Regions from separate parts of the Homo sapiens genome. Here region 2 is linked to region 1. Evidence: promoter capture Hi-C in human tissues and cell types (Jung and others, 2019). All regions are on one chromosome and are shown on one strand. The core of a region is centred on a gene start or on the middle of the fragment in contact, and the rest is flanking DNA. Distances in the headings are between cores, read along the strand shown. Region 1 holds the start of PRSS1 (serine protease 1). Region 2 has its middle 44 kb from the start of PRSS1.

What was found. The method cuts DNA at HindIII sites, captures the fragments that hold promoters and counts their contacts. A contact is called where the count stands out against the background at its distance.
Region 2: a fragment that was not itself captured here is called in contact with the fragment with the promoter of PRSS1 in region 1 in 1 of the 25 tissues and cell types used here (neural progenitor cells).

Annotation. Positions count from the first base shown.
Region 1 is chr7:142,747,257-142,751,600 of GRCh38, forward strand. It overlaps PRSS1 (serine protease 1), which reads left to right and starts at 2,216. Exons shown (of 5, transcript NM_002769.5): 1 at 2,216-2,268; 2 at 3,299-3,458. The coding sequence starts at 2,229. It also overlaps TRB. The HindIII fragment of the contact is 6,237 bases long and covers 1-4,344 here.
Region 2 is chr7:142,702,811-142,707,154 of GRCh38, forward strand. It overlaps TRB. Among named protein-coding and RNA genes, the nearest start is that of PRSS1, 44 kb to the right of the region's middle. The HindIII fragment of the contact is 6,355 bases long and covers 1-4,344 here.

The sequences.
Region 1 (4,344 bases), core at 966-3,465:
CAAGCACTGATCCAAAAATCCCCTTTTCCAAAAAAATTTTCCATCTTCTACCAAGGTTCACCTCCCTGTTTAGTGCACACTAGTATCTACAGTTGTTAGAGCAGGAGTCTCTCCTTATCCTCTAAGGCAGGTGTTCTGTGAAGACCCCATGACAAGGGACAAAATGAAACAACATGTTCAGGGACAACAAAGGAAAAGCCCATTTTATCAATGCTCCAAAACCTGGCTACCTCAGGCTTGGCAAGTTATTCGTGAGCAGAGAAGTTTGTCATCTACATGGCAGTCATGGCCTGGATGGGTCTCGAACTGTGGCATGGTAATGCTCTGAGACTAGGTGCCAGGAGAAAGATAAATTCAATCATCCATTTCTACCAGGAAGAAAAGCACCAGGAAGGAATCAGATGTACAGTTTGTCCTCTAGGGACCTCTGTCTTGATCCTCAATAAATCTCCTTTTAGATACCTCCTCTTAGATGAAATTCCCACACTTCACAATGCTCTCCATGGCTTCTGTTGGCCTTATGGTCAGCTCTGCCAAGATCTGTATTCTTGGGCAAGACAGAATCCTTCTGAATCTCAGTCTCTTGCTCTATAAATGGAAACAATTTTGCTCTGCACAAATTACAATTAGCATGTTTGTGGGAAGTTAAAGTGTGAAACTCAGCATAAATGAAAAGTAATGTACCACTGTTGCTTACATGAAAACTCTTGTAAAGTTGTCAGGCACTGTGCACCATCTAAGCATAGCAGTGTTAGGTATGGGCCCATTAGTGATTAGAGGGGGTGCGAGGCGGAGAGGGGGTCTCCAAGCAGTGGGTCTCCTGGCTGTGGGGAAGCTGGCTCAGCAGCCATACCAGGAGCTGAAACCGAAGGTACTCTGTGTGTCCTCTCAACACCATGGGCCCCACTTTGGCATTATTTCCAATTCCCTCTGGTTTCCATTTGCTTCCTCCCTCTAGCCCCCTGGCCAGGTCCGATTTCAACACCAAGTTTCTGAGCTTTTCCCATTTTGTCCACCGTCTCTAGAACATTTCTGCTTCTTTTACCTTTCAAAGAATCCAAACTTGAACTCTACTTACTCCTGCCCATCACCAGCCTGAGCTCAGAGTTGCTGAGAAGGGAAAGCACCCTCATAAGGAAGCTCCTCCTTTCCCTACATCATTAGACTTGAGCACAGACAGCATCTCCATTTCCACACTGCTCTGGCCAGGTTGTGCCTCAGTCAATTACACAACTGTGTCTTAGTAGCCTTGGTAGGGCCCAAATCAGGATATTCTCTAGGAAGATTCACTTTGTACTGAGCCAAGCATAATCTCACTGCATCGAAAATAGAAAATGATCATCTGATCATTCTGGTTCAGACTGTCAGCCCTGAGCAGGTGGGTCAGTTTGCATCACCTGAGTGCAGATTGCAAGGACAACAGTGAGGCTGCATAAAAAGAACCTATGACAGGATGCACATGAGAGAGACAAATGTCTTCACATTGAAGAAGGGGAGGAGTGCGCCATTGGTTTTCCATCCTCCAGAGGCACTGAGAAAGCTCCTACAGAAACTGTGCCCCCTCCTTCTTTGAAACACTTCCCATCCTTAAGCCTTGGTAGGAAGGAGAGAAATCTGGAAGCCCAGAATCCTATGGAATGCTGAGTCTCCCTTCTCCTTACCCCTTAGTGTTGGAATTTTCATTCCCCAAAATCTTGCATTTGACCTTCCTGCACACTGACTGGAGAGAAGCATCTTCATATTCACAGGAATGAGCCTTAGATAAGACTTTGCTCCTCTCATGTGGGCCCCAGGAAACTGAAATCCAAGCTTTTTACCAATGCTTGCCCTTCCTTAAGTACATTAAATACATTCCCAATAGGTGGAAAGATTTGTAAACAGCTAGGCCATTCTCCCTCCTTCTAACCCTCATCTCCAGGGCCTAAGAAAGCCCAGCTCTGTTATCTGGGGCTTGACTTTCCCTGTCTTCCCCATCCCAGTATCCTTGCAGGAAACAGCCGGTCTCGCTCTCTGCTCTCAGAAGGAAAGTTTCCTTATCACCTGTGAATCACAAACCCAGAGAGTGGCCAAACATAGCCAGGCTGATGCAAGACCCTGGGAAGAGGAAAGCTGCAGGTGTGTTTGTGCTGGGAGGAGTGGTGACCCTCACCTCACAGTCACCTCCTCTCTGGATCCTCGTGAGGTATAAAGACGAGTCCTCCACCACCAGTCAGGCACACTCTACCACCATGAATCCACTCCTGATCCTTACCTTTGTGGCAGCTGCTCGTGAGTATCATGCCCTGCCTCAGGCCCCAACCACCCCCCCGTTCCTGGCCGACAAATGCCCTTCCATTCTTACCACCTCTCCTCTTTTGACTGTGCTCTGATATTCCGTTTCCTCCATCTGGCATATCTCCTTCCCATCCTCCTTGGGCTCTTTTTAAGTCTCACCTGTTCACCTTCTCCTTGACTTCACTCCCACCACTGTCATTCATCCATATCCGAGTTGTGGTTGGAGAAGCTGGGAAGGGGGCCAGGTGGGGCTGTCCCACGAAATGAAGCAGCAGGCTTCAGGCTTGGCTCCAACAGCAACAGAATAGCACCACTATAGCTGCTCCTAACCTCGAATGCACCTGGGGAGGTTGAAAAATTACTCATGCCAGAGACTCAGCTCTAGAAATTCTAACTTCAATTGTCTGGGGTAGAGCTTGTGTTCTGGGCTTTTAAGCTTCCCAGGTGATTTTTAATATTTCCAGCCATGCAGCCAAGGTTAAGAATTGCTGTCCTATTGGCCAATAACAAAGTCTACCTTTGTTCTGCCAAAGTGAGCCTGGGGGCTGCCCTCAACTCTGCCCTGACTGCACAGATCTGAGCTATGGGGGAAGGTGGTCATGGCCAGGTCTATGCAGACAGGGGGTTTTCCTAGCTTGGCAAAAGAATCCTGACAATCCAGGGCCCAAATAGCCAGGGGAAGTACACAGGTGATGAATAAAAGAGAGAAGCACTCAGTGGGAGAGACAACCACATCCCAACTCCTATCCCACTGGAAGCATTGTGAGGACATTCCTTGCGACTTCAGCCTGGTGACCCCAGGAGAGCTCGGATCCTCCGCAGGGTACCTAGCTATGTGCCCTGCAGGCACAGAGACTTGGGAGCCACAGGCAGTGATGATCACCAGGGGTGGCAGAGCTCCCTCCCTTGCCTAGCCTCACTGTGCTTGTTAAGGATTTCTAATTAGCAGAAAGCAATCACAGGCTGGGAGCGCCACCCCTAACATGCTATTGACTTGCCTTCTCCCTTCCCATCTCCACTCCAGTTGCTGCCCCCTTTGATGATGATGACAAGATCGTTGGGGGCTACAACTGTGAGGAGAATTCTGTCCCCTACCAGGTGTCCCTGAATTCTGGCTACCACTTCTGTGGTGGCTCCCTCATCAACGAACAGTGGGTGGTATCAGCAGGCCACTGCTACAAGTCGTAAGTGTGGGGCCCCCGACTGCAAAGCTCCCGGCCAGTCTGCCTGGGAGAGCTTGGCTTCAGCCCAGGGAACTACTGAGGTTGGGTAAGATGGATGGGAGAGGTGGTGGAGAAGAAAACTTGTTGGCAGCTGCGGACTCTCCAGAGCAGAGAGTGAACACAAGACAGGAACCTCTCACACCCAGGCAAATCCATGAAACAGCAAGGGTTGTGGTCATAAAAGCAGGCAGGGATGATCTTGGGGTGGTGAGAGCTAGTGAGAAAAGCAGGCAAGTATCTTTTGCTGGTTAGCTACACATTAAAGCCAACTAAGAAAGACTTTTTAAAAATACAGATGCCTTTGTCCTATCCCAGGGCAATTAAGTCAAAATTTTCAGGAAGAGGGTGTGAATATCAGTGAGAATTTTACACTCTACCTCTGCTAACTGTAGAGTGTATAGACAGAGCTGAGAACTGCTGCCTACACCAAGAACTCTCAAACCTGAGTATGCATCAGAACGCCCTGCAGGCTTGTTAAGGCACAAATCACTGGGCCCCTTCCCCAAGGTTCTGATCAGTAGGTGGGGGTAAGGACCAAGAATTCACATTTCTAACAAGTTCCCAGGAGATGCTAATGCTATGGCTACCCTTGGATTAGATTACACAGAAGGGTGGTTCTCACCAGGCCAAGAATGGAGGGAGGAACAGGCACTGTGCACAGTTGGCAAAGGCCTGGGGTGAAGAACGCTGGGAAAACTTCAAGGAGCTCCTTGTGCCCACAGTGCTAGTGACTGTGGAGATTGTGGGAAAGAGTCTGGGGAGGCAGGTTGAGGAGCAGCCTCTGGTGGGATCCCTTTGACTCTTCCCCACCCCACTACCACCAACCTCTGGAGCAGATAGGTCCTGG
Region 2 (4,344 bases), core at 976-3,475, 44 kb before region 1:
TAGCTTACACAATTCTCCCTTTCTGCAAATACCAAATTATCATGTTTATTGGTATAGTGATCTTACCATGGGCCTACAAAATCCATGTGGTCAAATGCCACGCCTTTCCATTATTCCTTCCCCAGAATCTTCTCCTATGCATGACATCCATGTTTAATGAATGATCAGACACAATTAATATGGGAACAGGGATGCTGACTTCTGTGTTTATGCCTCTATTCTCAGGGTCTGAAACAGCACCTGATATTTAACAGGTGTTCATTATGTGGCTGTTAAAAAAAAAAAATCAGCAATGTCTACAATGATTTGATCCTGGGTTTGCCTCTTCTCTCCTTCTTCCTCCAAAGTATATTTCTTAAATTTAACAACCCTTGCCTTCCTTTTCTGTCTAAGGGCTACTGGTAGGTAGGATAATGACTCCGAAAGGTGTCTATGTCCTAAACCTCAGAACCTGTAAATATGTTACCATACATAATAAAAGATAATTAAGTTTGTAGATAGTTTAGTGTGCTAATTAGCTAACCTTGAGGCAGGGAGATTATCCTGACTCATGCAGGTGGGCTCAGTATAAACACATAGGTACATAAAAGTGTATGGACTATGGTGAGAGTGATGTGACAACTTTACCTGCTGTTGCTGCTGAAGATAATGAAAGGGGCCACAAGTCAAGGAATGTGGGAGGCCTCTAGAAGCTAGAAGAGAAAAAAGAAAACATTCTCTCCTAGAGCCTCCAAAGAGCAAACTGCCAATGAGACCGACCCTGGACTTCCAACCAAAAGAACTGTAAGATAATAAGTTTGCGTTGTTTTAAGCCACTAATTTGCAGTAATAGGATACAGCAGTAAGAGAAAACTATTATAAGGCTCTATTTCCAAGCAGCTGAAAAAAGGCAGCTGATGAAAGAAGTCGTGCCGGGAAGTAGCCTAAGAGGCAAAAGTACAAAGGCAGGAGTTTGAATCAGACGATGCCACTTTTAAGGGTGGATTTTTCAGAGACATGTGAACCACAGCAACTCCATCTTAAATAGGAGCTGGGTAAAATAAGGTTGACACCTACTGGGCTGCATTCCCAGATGGTGAAGGCATTCTAAGTCACAGGATGAGATAGGAGGTCAGCACAAGATACGGGTCGTAAAGACCCTGCTGATGAAACAGGCTGTAGTAAAGACGCTGGCCAAAACCCACCGAAACCAAAATAGTCCCAAGAGTGACCTCTGGTCGTCCTCCCTGCTACACTCCCACCAGTGCTATGACACAAACGCCATGACATCAGGAAGTTACCCTGTATGTTCTAAAAAGGGGAAGCATGAATAATCCATCCCTTGTTTAGCATATAAAAGGATATAACCATAAAAATAGGCCACAAGCAGCCCTCAGGGCTACTCTATCTATAGAGAAGCTATTCTTTTATTCCTTTATTTTCCTAATAAACTTGCTTTCACTTTATGCTATGGACTCCCCCTGAATTCTTTCTTGCTTGAGATTCAAGAATCCTCTCTTGGGGTCTGGATAAGGAGCCTTTCCTGTAACAGCTTTCTGGTGATGATGAAGGGACTGTAGTGAGGAAACGCTGGAAAGAAAGGATAACTTTGGGTAAGTGTTGGGGTCCTGTAACATCTTCCTGGCAAACCCTGAAGGGATGATACTAAGAAGACCTCCCCCCAACCCAAGGAAATAGACTGCAGCACCGATTGGACAACTTTGGGTAAGTGGTGGAGTACCTACCCAGGTAAAGAATGGGATTGGGATAGAGGCTCAACTTAGGGGAGTTAGAGTCTCTCCTAAGACAGAGAGGGTTAAAGGCCCCTCTTAATAAAAGGCAAGGACACTTGAATGACCTTGGGTTAGAGGCCCGATTTAGGAGGATTAGAATCCCTTTCCAAGATTTAGGGGGTTAGTGGCCCTTCTTAGAAAGTCTGTCTTGGTAAAGTCCTTTCGGGCTAAGAACAGGTTTTGCACTACAGGATGTTAACTGCTATTCTCTTTGGATTAATCTGCCTTCAACTCCTTGCTGACAGCTGTGTGTAACAGGATTAGGCATGTACAGGATCATGGGACATGGGGAACTATTTTCTCCCTAAAACAGAAAACTTGAGAGCTGATGGGACTGCTGGAAAAGATCCTTCACAACCATCATGCGGCCACCTGAACCGTTCAGTGTCACTGCAATGGGTGGGTCTTTCTCTGGTGTCTCCGAGTGCCTCCCCTTCCCCACCCTGCCTCAGGCAGTGCTTTCTTCTTTCTCTCCTTCTCTCTGTCTCTCTCTTTTTCTCCTTGCAAACTGGTTGAATTAATGGTAAAAGTAACTGTCTCCTATAAAGTTTTGATTAATGGAAGAAAGGGTTTTTGAGGCTAGACTTAAGCTGTAGCAAATCTGATGTGCTTTGTGTGTTTTTCTGTATTATTCTGTCATAAAGAGGGGTACCTTATGATAGAACACTGGCTGAGGACACTTGTAAACTGCTTTTCAAGACAGACCAGCAAACTGGTCAGTTACAAACTTTGCTGCAGGTTCCTGAGAAAAATTGGATGAGATTTTTTTCTTGTCTTGCATGTCCTTGGGAGCTTGAAGCTGTAACCATGTGGCCATGTTTTCGCTTTTCACAATGGCATCCTGTGTTCAGGGTTCTATTCCTGCCTCAGGGGATGAGTTTTTTTATATTCCTATGTGTATGTATTTACATGTATTATGTGTATGTGATGTTTATTTCTAAAAGAGCATTGATTAATGGGTTTAATGAGAGCTTAAATCAAATATTTTGTCAGAAAAGTAAAAAGTGTAGTGCCTTTTAGTTCACGTGACTTTAATTTTCCAGAAATAAGGACAGTTTTGAAGATTATTGATAAAATAAAAATATCTTCAAAAATGTAAACATTTGGCTTAAATTAGGCAGGACACATATTAAGACTGCTAAATGCTTGAAGGTCATAAACTGCTTCTTTAACTTTTGAAAAATTTTCAATTAACCTACCTTGAAGCCATTAGATTCTAGATAAGACCTGGGGACATGTGGAGTTAGCCACGCCCCCTAGCTATGCTGGAGTCAGCCTTTATCTGCACTTCTGCCTGGTGTGTCCAAGGCTAGGCTCCACACCTAGTACATAATTAAAATCCTGAATTTAGCAACTTTTGGTGAAAAACCTTGGTAAGAGTCAACATTATAACATGTAATTGATACTACTGAAGAAACAGTTTTATATGCAAATTGTGTAAAGAAAGTGAAATGCATTTTTCATTAAAATTATATATATATATATATAAAGTCATGGGAATTTAGATTTTTGCCTAGATTAAAGCATTAAAGGATCGTTTCAAGTTAGGATGAAGCTGACTGTTCAAGAAAGCTGTGGAAGGCTTATGAAAAAAATAACCATAAAAGAGATTCTGTGTGCGAACATTGGCTAAAATTAAAGGGGTGTTATTCAGTTATTCTAGAAACTGAACATTGGAATAAAAGCACTATTCTACTCTTTAACAAAAACTTGTAAAGGGTTATAAAAGGTTTATAAAAACCTTACCTTATGGTCAACATGATTAAGATTGAATACATTTGTCTATAAGGTTTTACTAAGAATTGGGTTTGACATCAATAATGCATGAATACAGCAGTGACATTTGGCTTATTTAATATTACAGTCATACAAGAAGCATTATCAAATACAAAATGGCATTTGGTTTTTTTGGGCTGTATTTGTATAAATGTGTCATTGGTACATGTTCCAAAATTATTTTAAAAAAAACTTCTTTAACCCTGATATGACTTAGTGTATGCTATTAATAATTGTTAATTAAAATCATTGCATGCCACAGAGTCAACCACATTTTTCTAGTCAATTTTGGCTTTAATTGTGGCTGTTCTAAGACTTTTGGTCATCCAGACAATTGTCTCATATTAGTTCTCTGTAAAAGGTGGTTTAGAATTAAATGTAGGACTCTAGAAAACTGTGCTTTTAAATGCAGATTTTCTGATAAATTTGGACATTGTGACATCAGAACAGAGGAAAACCTTTCAGGACTCAGGGAGAGCTGAAATGTTCATGAATATCAAGCAGAACAGAAGTTAACTGCATGGACTAAACTAGCAAAAGTCTAACGTGTAAAATGTTTTCTCCCTAAAACAGAAAACTTGAGAGCTGATGGGACCGCTGGAAAAGATCCTTCACAAGCATCACGTGGCCACCTGAACTGTTCAGTGTCACTGCAACGGGTGGGTCTTTCTCTGGTGTCTCCGAGTGCCTCCTCTTCCCCACCCTGCCTCAGGCAATGCTTTCCTCTTTAACTTTTTGTGTAAAATGTTGCTGATCTTTTGTTTTGTGTTTCAGAGTCAAGGAAACTTTTGAGCTA